5 separate regions of the Homo sapiens genome follow, and all the other regions are linked to region 5. Evidence: promoter capture Hi-C in 16 types of primary human blood cells and fetal thymus (Javierre and others, 2016). All regions are on one chromosome and are shown on one strand. Each heading gives the region's core, a stretch centred on a gene start or on the middle of the fragment in contact. The rest is flanking DNA. Distances are from core to core; before and after follow the strand shown.

Evidence for each region. The method cuts DNA at HindIII sites, captures the fragments that hold promoters and counts their contacts. A CHiCAGO score of 5 or more calls a contact.
Region 1: a fragment that was not itself captured here is called in contact with the fragment with the promoter of OR10AG1 in region 5 in 1 of 17 cell types (erythroblasts); the score reaches 5.3 in erythroblasts.
Region 2: a contact is called between a fragment that was not itself captured here and the fragment with the promoter of OR10AG1 in region 5, in 4 of 17 cell types (erythroblasts, M1 macrophages, endothelial precursors and 1 more). The highest score is 8.4, in erythroblasts.
Region 3: a fragment that was not itself captured here is called in contact with the fragment with the promoter of OR10AG1 in region 5 in 1 of 17 cell types (erythroblasts); the score reaches 7.0 in erythroblasts.
Region 4: a contact is called between a fragment that was not itself captured here and the fragment with the promoter of OR10AG1 in region 5, in 1 of 17 cell types (erythroblasts). The highest score is 6.8, in erythroblasts.

What each region holds. Positions count from the first base shown.
Region 1 is chr11:56,721,792-56,724,491 of GRCh38, reverse strand. No RefSeq gene overlaps it. Among named protein-coding and RNA genes, the nearest start is that of MIR6128, 21 kb to the left of the region's middle. The HindIII fragment of the contact is 561 bases long and covers 1,122-1,682 here.
Region 2 is chr11:56,767,292-56,769,991 of GRCh38, reverse strand. No RefSeq gene overlaps it. Among named protein-coding and RNA genes, the nearest start is that of OR9G4, 20 kb to the right of the region's middle. The HindIII fragment of the contact is 2,071 bases long and covers 323-2,393 here.
Region 3 is chr11:56,806,606-56,809,305 of GRCh38, reverse strand. No RefSeq gene overlaps it. Among named protein-coding and RNA genes, the nearest start is that of LINC02735, 41 kb to the left of the region's middle. The HindIII fragment of the contact is 357 bases long and covers 1,263-1,619 here.
Region 4 is chr11:56,785,959-56,788,658 of GRCh38, reverse strand. No RefSeq gene overlaps it. Among named protein-coding and RNA genes, the nearest start is that of OR9G4, 39 kb to the right of the region's middle. The HindIII fragment of the contact is 2,975 bases long and covers 1-2,700 here.
Region 5 is chr11:55,968,623-55,971,322 of GRCh38, reverse strand. It overlaps OR10AG1 (olfactory receptor family 10 subfamily AG member 1), which reads left to right and starts at 1,378. Exons shown (of 2, transcript NM_001005491.2): 1 at 1,378-1,431. The coding sequence starts at 1,416. The HindIII fragment of the contact is 3,009 bases long and covers 384-2,700 here.

The DNA.
Region 1 (2,700 bases), core at 153-2,652, 750 kb before region 5:
GAAAACTCATTTAAATTGCTTTAATTTTATTTCTTATCTATTAAATGGGATAATAATTTCCTCATATGATGGTAGAAAAATAATGTGCTTAGTTTATCGTAACTAATGATGTTACAGTGTTGTAAAGCAATGGATTGCTTTTTTTTTTTTTTTTTTTTGAGACAGAGTCTCGCTCTGTTGCCCAGTCTGGAGTGCAGTGGTGCGATCTCGGCAGCTCACTGAGACCTCTGCCTCCCAGGCTCAAGTGACTCTCCTGCATCAGCCTCCCCAGTAGCTGGGATTACAGGCATGTGCCACCACACTCGGCTACTTTTTTTGTATTTTTAGTAGAGACAAGGTTTAACCATGATGGCCAGGTTGGTCTCAAACTGCTGACCTCAAGTGATCTGCCTGCTTCAGCCTTCCAAAATGCTGGGATGGATTGTTTTTTTATGTAAAATATTTCAATGTATTAAATTTTTATATATTATCACCTACTGACAGTTTGATGTACTTTCTTCTCCTATCAGCATTCTCTTCTCCATCCCATCACCAGTAGCCTTTGCTCAATAGTTCACAGGTCTAACTATTCTTAGGGAGCCCAGGGTGATGCTCTTTCCCTTTGACTCTTCCATCCCTTCGTTCACATATTTTGCTCTGAGGTTCATTACTCAGAAAAGATAATTGAGTTTTATTGAGCTCAGCTACCTCTGAGACTGTTAAGAAAAGTATATAATTCTTCTCACTGGAAAAAACAATGCTCATAATACACCCTGGGACACACACACACACACACACACAAAAAAATGGTAAAACACACATTTCCTTTGTGTTTCCCTGGATACTTACTTATGTACACTGGTAGAGAGGATGGTTTGACAAGCCAACATCTGTATTTCTTAATCAGAACAAGAAGACTATAATAGCTGGCAGGAAGTACTAACCAGCTAACATACTATCCTTCCTAACTAATATTATATTTTTATATTAAAAGCTAAAAGTGCATTCTTCATCCAAAATTATTAAAATACAACTTTTTGTATTTAGAGATATGCTTCTATTGTTAGAGGTTTCCTTAAAATTACCATATGCCTTCACACTTTCTTAAAGAATATCAAACTTTAAAAGCAACATGTTAAGCTTTTCTTGATGTCTTTTGGCCGTTAGACTGATAATATCTTCTATTTAATTCTTTCTTCTCATTCTTGCTCTTGAGATATTAACAAGACTATCTCTTTTGTTAGTGGCTCCTAATCGTTGCCTGTTTGTGCATTTGTTTTTTTTTCTTCCCTTGCAATTTTCTGTGTTGTTAATTGCTCTTTTTTTTGAATCTAATAGTGTGAAATTCTACTTCTGTGTGTGAGCTGCCAGCAGTTTTAGAAATTAAAACAGGAAGATGATGAATATATTTCAAAACAGGGGCAGTGGCTCACACCTGCAATCCCAGCACTTTGGGAGGCTGAGTGTAGGAGTTCAAAACGAGACTGGGTGACAAGGTGAAATCTTGTTTCTACAAAAAATAAAAAAAAAAAATTAGCCAGATGTGATAGGGTGTACCTGTAGTCCATGCTCCTCCAGAAGCTGAGGTGGGAAGATTGCTTGATCTTGGGAGATTGAGGTTGCAGTGAGCCATGAAGGCACCTCCACTGCACTCCAGCCTGGGCAACAGAGTGAGACTCTGTCTCAAGAAAAAAAGAAAAGCTTTCTTTAGCACTTATCATATATTACTATGTAAATGGTTATTGGACTGGTTATGAGGAAGAAGAAAAATTTTCCATCTACATTTAACATTTGAATTAAGCAACTTACCTAAAATTCTCAGCAACACCATCATCTCAATAGAATTTAAGTTTGCCTTTCCCAGATTCTTTTATGTCAGAGTATGAATTCCCAGGGTTACGGATTCCTGAAACCCCTCAGGGTTTCACAATTTGGAGAATAGCTAACAAGGCAATTAAACTAAATTTTGTATTGATGAATTGGGGATTATTACTGAGAAAGGAGGAAAAATTTTGGAGACTATGATTCCCTTGTGAAAAATGTAATTAGTTATAATTTTTATTCTCATTCTCCCTTGAGTTGTGCAGAAGCTTAACTATAATATGTATACACATATATTATGTGTGTTATTAATATTCATATGTTTATATTTGCATATTAAAACACATACGAACTTCCTTACTAATATTTCTGTTGTATGTTGGATGTATCTCATTTTTCCCTCCAAATCCATTCTCCATCCTTCTAAACTCCTTTTTTTGCTCCAGGATGTTCACCTGTATTAATTTGCATCAGTGGGATCTTTGCTTACTATTTAATAGCTTTACCCAATGGTTATCAATGGCAGGGAGGACAGTGAAGGCAGAGAGTTTCCCCCAGGCTCCTTATCTACAGACATGGCACAACTGGTGTATCCATGGCCTTAGACCATAGCTACTAACAGGTGACCCTTTTTCAAAACTCTTTCTTCAGTGCCCATAACCTCTCTCTCTTCTTGTATGATTAAGGATAGAGGTGGTAACAGTGCTCAGAAGTTATTAGTTCTAGGGTGTATTAGTAAGCGTTCTCCAGAGAGACAGAACCAATAGGAGATAGAGAGATAGATAGATAGATAGATAGATAGATAGATAGATAGATAGATAGACAGACATAGAGGTTTACAAGAGGGGGTTTATTAGGAAAATTGGCTCACGTGATTAAGGAGGCTGAGAAGTCCGACAA
Region 2 (2,700 bases), core at 109-2,608, 800 kb before region 5:
GAAAACAAATTCATAATAAAGTATTTTGGAGAAGACTGTGTCTTGTATGTTCCACCTTCCCTCCCCTTGGTGACTCAAAAAGAACTTTAGCATAGAAAGTGTTTCCAGAACTATGGCATTAAATAAATCTGTTTATATTGATGGAACCAGTGTTATTTGACAATGGAACCTTTTGTCTGAGTTATAGGCAGAAGTTCTGTCCCAGGATTACAGTTTGAAAAACAATGTTATGTAGGGAAAGAAAGAACACGATAGGAATGTAAATCTTTCCTGTCACTTAAGGTAAAATAAATTGAGTTTTGAGAAGTGATAGAGAGAAGCTTTACCACTTAAAAATAGATCTTTAAAATTTTTGTTTCTTAAAGAAAAGGAATGAGAAGGGCATGAGGAAGAAAGAATTTAGTCAATATTTGCTCTGAAAAATGACTCAGATAACCAATGGTAAAGATAAGCATAATACTAGCAAAACATATGGGGGTACTGGTGTATTTTCTAGGCTTAAAAGGGGTGTAGAAAAAACATGCTAGATAGGTTTGACCATATATCATAAAACTTCCATGGTCAAAAAATTAAAAATCAATTTAAAATGTGGGAAAATATTTGTAGAAAATACATACCTGGAAGTTTTCTTACTATTTTTGCAAAGGGCTCATAGATATATGAGAACAGTTCTGACTAAAATGTCCAGAGAAAATGCTTAAACCAAACATTGGAAAATATCTCACAGCTTGGTAAGTAAAATGCACTTTGTTCTTGTAAATGGCAAAATAAATTTGTAAATATCTATCAAGAGGCTTTAAAATGCTTCTGTAGTTGGACTCAGTAATTTCATTACAAATAACTTGTCCAATGGAAAGAACTCCAAATGGGGAGTAAGATGGGGTGGCACCTCTTATTCAGGGACGTGTTTGTTGCTGAGTCTGTGCATAACCCAAGCATCCCCTGGATATTTTAGCTTATAGCTTAAAATGACATGCTTTTTCCTTTAATGTCAAATTATAATAGACTCCAGTTCTCATTCTTCTGGGCTGCAAGAAATGCAACTGTACCAGTGTCTCTTCTCCATGGAGTTCAGGGTATTCCAGGGGAAACAATGAGTGCTGGTGCTCTCCTGCCTCCTTGATTGCCTCTGGCTGCTTCTGCTCCACTGACAGGCTCCAGGACTAATTGCTGCAAGTTTCTTCTGCTTCCCTGCTGTGGCTAGTCTTCCCTCTGCCATTTCTTCCCAAACCTGCAAACCAGCCTATCTTATCCAGAGCCACCCACAGCATAGTTGAGGCCAGTCTGCAACTTCTAATGAGTCTTTATTAAAGACTGGGTATAATAAGAGAAAAACATGTAATTCTGGGAACATTTTGGAGCTATGACATGGCTTACCCTGAGCCTACAGGTAGATTGCTCCATGGGCTTCAGAAAGACAAGTCTCATCAGAACAAAGGAGTCAATTCATAGATTATTTTGCCAAAGGTTTAGTGATTTAGTCTTGAACAACATTACGTGTGGGTCTCCACAGTCAAGTCTTGGTTGAGTTCAGCCAAACTGTACAGTCTTGTCTTCATTTAAAGGTGCTTCCTGTAGAGTTTCAAACCATAATTTTTAAATAAGAATCTAATTCAAGGAGAACACAATGAATTGGCCACAATTTAGAGGGATATTGCTATCTAAATTCTTTCTTACAAAAGAATCATTTCTCCCAATCGCTATCTTTCAAACATGTCCCACAGAAGGAAATATAGAAAGACCCAGTAGAGTCATACAAATATACAACTGGAAGAAGAGTTCCACAAAATATACTTAGTTTTACTCCTTCAATACACTTTAAATATTCTGCTTCAGAAATCAGCAGACTATGATTTGTGTATCAAATCCAGCTTGACACCTGTGTTTGTACAACTTGCAAGTCAGGAATGGTTTTTACATTCTTAAATGATTGGAAACAGTCAAAAGGAGAATATTTTATGACTCATGAAAATTATTTGTAATTTAGATTTTAGCATCCATAAAAAAAGTTTTGCTGGAACACAACCATCTTTATATTAGAATCTCTCAACAACAGTTCTACTGACATTTTGGCCTGGATAACTCTTAATTGTGGGGATATCCTTTGCATTGTAAGACATTTAACCACATTCTGCCCTCTGCATTAGATGCCTTTAACACCCCTCATTCCAGGTGTGATAACCAAAAATGTATCCACATGTAAGGTAATAATATATAAACCACAACTACTGATTTATGAATAGTCCTTGGATGCTTTGGGACTACAAGGGCAGTGTGGGGTTCCTCTATTTTTCCCATTTTTTCTTTGTCTTGACCAAAAAATATGGAGTATCTTGATTGCTCTTGTGACCTTACCAGCTCCATGTTTTTCCCTGCATACTTGAACTCAAGCTTGGACATTTCCAGGCACTGATACACTTGTTTAGGTTGTTGTCTCAGATACGAAAAGAAACTAGCCCTGGTCCTGAGATGAATTCTTTAAACTGTCCTATAAATTCCATAACCCAACACATTCATTGGGCATATGCCCAGCAGAACCTCCCTTTCTCTTGCCATCTGTCATGAGGATTGCTGCAGCACTTTGTAAATTTCTCTAATAAATGCTTTGGATGGATCACCCTGGTGTTTAGTGTTTCTATCTTTGGAATCCCAATTGGCCCCATCTTGGGAGGGTTTTGGGCACTCCTTTTTGAGACCTCC
Region 3 (2,700 bases), core at 192-2,691, 840 kb before region 5:
TCAAGTGGTTAATCATGCATTTTTTAACTTTATCAGTTAATTCCAGGCTAAGAAAAATGTTCAAAAAGGATACTTATGTGTCTTTTTGTTGTCATTCTAGAATTTTTTAGGTTGTATTATTCTTGTTGGTTCTAGTGGTTAATTTTTTTCCTTTTCAAAATATACATGGAATGCTGTCAACTTTAAATACTTTCTGATAGAAATTTCCTATGAGATGAGAAGATGGGTGGATGTATTCCATCTGCCAAATTCTTTCTTATTCTGTTTTTCACTTTTGATAGCTTTTGGTTGTTGTCATTGTCATATCATCATTGCTTGTGATATTTATTTTTCCATTCTATAATATTCATAATCTTTTAGTTCTTGTCCTCTATGTAAAGATATTCACTCTAATATAGTCTGAATAATTGTATCTTTTGACCAAAATCTCCTTTTTATCCCCACCCCTACTTCCAGATCCCGGTAGCCATCATTCTACTCTCTACTTCTATGAGTCTGACTTTTTTTTAGAATCCACGTGTAAGTGAGATCATGTGGTATTTAACTTTCTGTGCCTGGCTTATTTTATTTAGCATAATGTTTCTAGGTATATCAATGTTGTCACCAAATTTCCTTATTTTTTATGACTGAATATACTACTAAATACATAAACTTTTCTTCCTCTAGTCATCCATTGATCAATACTTAAGTTGCTCTCACATCTTGGCTATGGTGAATAATGCTGCAATAAAAATGGAAGTGCAGATATCTCTTCAACATATTGATTTAGATTTTTTTGGACATACGCCCAGAAGCAACATTGTTGGAATGTATGATAATTCTGTTTTTAGTTTTTTGAGGAATCTCCACACTGTTTTTAATTATGACTGCCCTAATTTACATTTCTACCAACAGTTTACAAGGATTATCTTTTCTCCACATTATTACCAATATTGGTCATTTTTGTATTTTGATAATACTCATTCTAACAGATGCTAGTTGATATTTTATTACATTTTCATGATTGTTAATGATGTTGAATATTTTTTATATACTTGTTGGCCATCTGTATGTCTTGTTTTGAGAAGTGTCTATCAAGCCTTTTTGGCCATTTTTTTTTTTTTTTTTTTTTTTTTTTTGCTGTTGAGTTATGTGAGTTCCTTACACATTTTGGATAAGGAAGAAATGAAGCACCTGATCAGATATATAGTTTTCACATCTTTTCTCTCAATCCATGGGTGTTTTTTTTCACTGATAACTTTTTCTTTTCGTGTTCAGAAGCTTTGTAGTTTGCAACTTAATTTGTCTAGTTTAGCTTCTGTTGCCTGTGCTTTTGGGCTAATAAACAAACACACAAAAAAATAATGCCCGGACTAATGTGATGGAGCTTTTACCCTTTATCTTTTTTTCTATTAATCTCACAGTTTGAGGTTTTAAATTTTGAATCCATTTTGGGTTGATATTTATATGTGGTGCAAGATAAGGTTTCTCATGATCCAACCCCTAAAAGAAATTAGATTAATTTCCTAACTCCCCTTTTTACAGCCATACTCTTAGAAGTATTTGTCCATTTATTCACTTACTCATTTGTCTGAAAATATTCATCGAGCACTTATTTTTTAATGAACTCTTTGGAAGCTTGGGAATATATTGTGGACAATCCTACAAAATCCCTGCTCATTCTTATGGGGTAGGTGAATGCAATAACAAGTCAATGTTAGTTAATACCAATTACTTTCAATAAAAATAAAACTGGGCAAAGAGAAATGAAGTGAACGAGGCTGAGTTGGGGTCAGCTGTACTCTTTTCCGAAGGATGATTGGAGAAAGCCTTTCTGATGAGAGGATATTGTAGCAGAAACTCGGATAAAATGAAACAAATTGTGCAGCTATTTGGAGAGAATTGTTTTGAGAAGAAGGAAAAAAGAGAGCAAAGATTCTGAGGAAGGATCTTGGTTTGCTGGTTTCAAGAGGGCAAAGTGGACTGGGTGAGTGGGGGAAAGATAGGACATCCTAGGCTTTTCTTTTCTTCTTCTTCTTATTATACTTTAAGTTTTAGGGTACATGTGCAAACGTGCAGGTTTGTTACATATGTATACATGTGCCATGTTGGTGTGCTGCACCCATTAACTCGTCATTTAGCGTTAGGTATATCTCCTAATGCTATCCCTCACCACTTCCCCCATCCCACAACAGGCCCCAGTGTGTGATGTTCCCCTTCCTGTGTCCATGTGTTCTCATTGTTCAATTCCCACCTATGAGTGAGAACATGTGGTGTTTGGTTTTTTTTGTCCTGGCGATAGTTTGCTGAGAATGATGGTTTCCAGCTTCATCCATGTTCCTACAAAGGACATGAACTCATCATTTTTTATGGCTGCATAGTATTCCATGGTGTATATGTGCCACATTTTCTTAATCCAGTCTATCATTGTTGGACATTTGGGTTGGTTCCAAGTCTTTGCTGTTGTGAATAGTGCTGCAATAAACATACGTGTGCATGTGTCTTTATAGCAGCATGATTTATATTCCTTTGGGTATATACCCAGTAATGGGATGGCTGGGTCAAATGGTATTTCTAGTTCTAGATCCCTGAGGAATGGCCACACCGACTTCCACAATGGTTGAACTAGTTTACAGTCCCACCAACAGTGTAAAAGTGTTCCTATTTCTCCACATCCTCTCCAGCACCTGTTGTTTCCCGACTTTTTAATGATTGCCATTC
Region 4 (2,700 bases), core at 126-2,625, 820 kb before region 5:
TTGGAAAAACCTCCATTTCATCATCTTTCTATAAATGATAAAAATTTTTAGTTACCTACAGAGTCAGAACAATTATATGTCTCCCCAAAATCTTCATTATTAGGAATATGATAAAGTCTAATGAATATTAGAACCATCTAGCGACTGTTATTACTAGCACACTAGTTATATTTAATAATGTAAATGTCCACACCAGGAGTGATTTATTGGAAAAAAAACATGTGTTCCCCATTCCCATCTACAGAATTGAAAATATAAAAGGTTACTTTGCTTAAAAATAATTTTTTAAATAAAAGGAATTCTTTTTCTTATATTCCTTTGAATTTATTTTATGCCTATTTTCTTTATTTTTATATTCTAAAAACAAAATAAATCATCATTATAACAGAAAATATAAAATATAAAGGAAAAGAGGAGCAACAATAAAAATAAAAACCCTAGAATCTTACTATTTCATACAGAGACAAATCCTGGCAATAATTTTCAGATGACTCTCTGTGTATTTGACTCTTAAGTCATTTCAGCTATTACTTTATTTGTTGATATTTAGTTTTTTTCTTAGTTCTTTTAGGTAAAAATAAATGGGAATAGCTTATTATAGAAACTAGAAATAAAATGCAAGAAAGTGAATAGTAAAATAGAAAAATTTTTAAAATTCAGAGGCACTGGGTATGGAAAAGTTAGAGGTAAATTAAAATACAGAAAATTTACAGCCTATTTTCATGTTACCCATTTTTGTTGTTTCCAAATTGAAAAAGAAATATAATAGACAAAATTTTAAAATAGTTTTAGCATCTTTTTGTTTCTTTGAAATTAAGGAAGAGTTTCTGGTCAGAAAAGTGGATGCAGAGCTGATCCTGTGCATCTAAAATAACTCTTCATACAGAACCCCAATTTCAGAATGAATCAGGTGCTATCAGATCTTCTCCAGTGTTTACAAACTTCCCTGGAACACATTGGGATGATATGTGTGGACACTCAACTTTCCCCAAGGCTCTCAATATTTCATGGGTGTCTCATTGAAGGAGAGACCAATAGACATGTTCAGATGGAAAGCGGTCTTGTCTGGACTCAGAACAATGGGTCAGTAACTGCAATCTCCTTGAATTGCACTTGAGCAATTCCAATGCCAAAAATAATGGGTTGAAGGCAAATCTAATGATGTTGACAGAAAACAGACTGTCTGTAGCCTGAGTGTGATGAGAGGCTTTGCACCCTCTTAGAGATTTCAGAAATCACTTTTTCCAACCACAGTTTTTACCATATTTTAAAAGTAGTAAACAACATTTTTCTTGAAATGAGAAAATTGTTCCACTTAGTAAGATTATTATATAATTTAATGTATTAATTGAATCAAAACGTCTTTGGCCTAATAAGAATATAAAATATATGGGCCTAAATTAAAAAAATACTTTCTCTTGTTGCCTAGGAAAAGCAATAAATACATACTTTTAGAGACCTAAAATTATTAGAGAATGTTTGGAAAGCAGAACACAAAGAAAGTAAAACTCACATGTAATTTCACTACTCACATATGAAAACAATGGTAATATACATCAAAATAGATATTTTTTTCTACTATTTAAAATTTATATGTTTGTACCATATATATAGGATTCTGAAATATAAAAATGCAGATAGTTTATTTTATAAGACAATGGGATCTAGAAAAACACACGTTCTTGTCATGTAATTTTGTTTGTATAAATAATCTATGCTAAATCCATTGTTTACACTCTTCCAGCATTTTCTTATATGTAGGTATATATATTTTTACAAGATTTTTATAGGATTTTATATTAAATGTTATTTTTAGCTTGCTTTTAACTAGATAAATCCTAAATATTTTAAAATAAATTATGTGCTATTAGATATTCTTCGCAAGAGGATTTTTAGTTGTCAAAATTAAGTTAAAAAATATGTATATGGTGACTCCTGATTAGCAGGCATTATTCCAAGTCCTGAGGATACAGCAGTAAATGAGACAGGAAAAGTTCTTTTCTCCTTTGGAGGGAGAGAAGCGTGCATTTAATGGCGAACCAGCTAGGGATTAGTATTACTACAAATAAAGAAGAGCTAGGGATCAGCACTACTACAAAAAAAGAAGAGCTAGGAATCATTATCCTACAAAAAAAGAAGGATCAAATATATCTCATGATGGAGACAGGATCATACAGTTTATTTACAGTGGGGTTGGGATTCTAACTCAGGTCCTCAGACAGCAAAACTTGTGCTTTTAGCTATCATACAAATGCCAGCATGAAAGGAAGATCATCTAAGGGGAAAAAATGGCTAAGAAGAAAAGAAGCCAAATAAATTACATTTACCTCTGTAGCAAATACTACTAAAGAGGAATTCCATCTTTCATTCTCCTCTTGCTTAATGGAAGCCCCATTTTTAGCTGGTCACATTGCAACCAAGATAGAACACTACATTTTTCAATCTCCTTTGTACGTGGCTGTTGCCACATGACAAAGTACTGAAATGTAAGAAGAAAATGTGTGAGGTTCTTCTGGGAAGTCTCCTTAGATGTTTAGGTTAGCATTCTTCTTGTCACCTGTCTCCTTTTTGTGACCTAAATGTAGATTCAGTGGCAGTCATTTTGTACTATGGGGAAACATTCGGGCTCCTGTCACTGTATAGTAGCCTTATCTGCCCTACATTGGCTATTTACTTACTCATTTTATAAGAAAGAAAAAT
Region 5 (2,700 bases), core at 129-2,628:
TGGCACACACACTCACTGGCAAAGGGATGCTGGTATTAGTGTTTTTATAATTAGCATAAATAATAGGAGAGAGACATAAATAGGGGGTGGCTATGGGTGAGTGAGTGCAGGCAAAGTGGCCCGAGAGGCTGCAGTGCAGGGAGGGTGCTGGTGGGCTGGCCTGTGTCTGCACAGGCTACTCTGCTGGATCAGTCTGCTGGTCAGCCGGGGGTCCACCAGCACAGGAGCTATGATGTGGCCCCCAGGAGGTACCTGGCTGGGGGCCAAGCTGGGACCCAGGAGAGGCCAGCAAACTGAGTGGTGCTGAAGTTAGAATAGCCTCATGTAGTGGGTGAGACTGCCGTGCAGAATTCAGGTCCCATAGTTCCCATAGGGCTAAAGCTTCCTACGGGAGCAGGTCAAGCCTGGGGGGATGGGCATCCCTGGCCATGCTCCACTACAGACACTTTCACACTAAACCCTCTGGATTCCACACAGGCTGGAGTTCTGCCCCTACCACTTGTCTAAGCATCTCTCCCTGCCAGTTCAAGTGTTACTTGTGGTCCAGGGGTTTTCTCCTGCTGGGATTCGGAGGCTCATGGAAAGAGAGGGTTGCTCCTTGCCCATTCAACTCATGCTTTTGCAGGAGTCACTGGGGGCCAGGAATGCTTCCTGTGTGTGGTACCCCCATGCAGAATTCCTTTCCTTCTGAAGATTTGCTAGGAGTGCACCAATCTTCCTGATGTCCTGGTCCCTCGTGGGCGATGTTCCTCTTGACTGCGTCTAGTGGGACGTCTTGGAGTGGTATATTACATTTTCAATCAGCTGGATACATTTCCCTGGTGCCTTATAGACAACACAGAATGAAATAAATGTATAGATAGATTTTCTCAGCAGAATTAACATGTTTTAATATCCACAAAAAAAGTTAACCTAGGAACAGAGGGTTCCACATCTGAAAAAGAATCTCACCGTTCAATATGTCGAAGACATCAAGCATATCATGTTCGTGTGATTAAACACATGATATATTTTTTAAAGGTCTAGTTAATTTGGATCTGGATAAATTATTGGAATAGAAGTAAGGCAGACAAATCCACACTAAGTATTAGGGGCCTCAAATACACAGTTGGAAAATTTTTAACTTTTTCCTGAAAGTAATACTAGACAACTAAATGGTATTTAATTAACTCCCCTCATGAGGAGATGAAGAGGAGGATAAGTTTACTTAAAGTAGTTTTGAAAAATGAATCAGAATGATTGACAAACAGAAGCAGCCTTCTAGAAATTAAACTGATACTCAAGAGAAGACACATCCCAGGTTGAGTCTGACTATTCCTATATAAGAGCTGTTGCTGTTTGAAACAAGCAAGCGTATTGCAAAATTACAGTTCCCGAGAAAAGGAAGAGCTTAAAAAGTCTGTACAGACAGCTTCATGCAAATCCCTAAAGGTAAGCCATAATTGGGTTGACAGACTATTTTATTTAAGAATAGTTACAAGTTTGTGGATAGAAATGCAACTAATAAAACAGAAAAGCATGAAATTTTGAGACCTTTATCTGAAAATTAATTATTTAACATTTAAATCATGTATCTCTTCACTACAAAGTTAAATAAAATTAGATGTCCAATAATGGTAAAATTGCATTAGTGATGAAAAGTCATTTAAGGCAATTTTGAAAACTAGTACTAATAGAAATGTATAAATATGAGATAGTATTTGTCTGATCACTTTCATTTATCAACGTATTAAGTCAAATGCATTGGCTGACCGGGCTAAAATAGGTATAGGTGCAGCAGATTTGAAGACACAGAAAAAAAGAATTTGTTTAGAAAGTTGGAGAACAAACGTTAAGCAAGTGTAATGGGAATTGACAAGCAGTGATTTCCTCATATTGGATGACATTGACATGAAGTGAAGCAAGACAGTGTGTTTTTGTTTTGTTTTGTTTAATTTTTTGGTCCCATTTATATGCTCTGGCCACTTAGATGGCCAGAGTAAATGTTAGCTGGGTTTAATCAAAGAATTTTACTTTAATAAGGCAACAGGATGAAGGGAAAATAGAGAGAAGGAATTGTATTTGGTTGAAAGGAACTGTATTTGGTTATATGACAATGGAGAAATTCACTTAGATAAAAAAAAGAAATGTAAAAAAAATTGTGATGAATTTCTACATCTTGATTAAGTTATAATTTAATTACTATTTAGCATTCACTGTATTCAGGGCAATAACAGGGGAAGTCAATAAACTGCCTACTGGTATTAGTGTTTTTATATTTAGCATAAATAATAGGAGAGAGACATGAAGTAGAGCAACAATAATGCATGTATTTAGTCTCTCAGTAACCAAGAAATTGTTTAAGATAATTGATTCTCACTGGTGCATAAAAGGAAAAGTTTAAAATTCATTTTGAGTATGAATTAATCGTAATATTCAAGGGCAACATTTTGAATTAAAAAAACTGGAATATGACTACCAATACAAAGAAAAATGATATTCTCAGATGAAATAGTAAAAGCCTACACTATAACTCTACTCTTAAGTGTGAAATAATAAGATGTTATTCCTCCATAATATTTTCTAAACAACAATGCATGCTTCTCAATGCCTCTGGTTGCATTATATCCCAGTATAATAAAATATATTGAGGTTTCATTTCTTAAATTGATTTTAATGCTAAATCAGTTTATTATCTAGAAACAGAGCAAGTACTGGTGA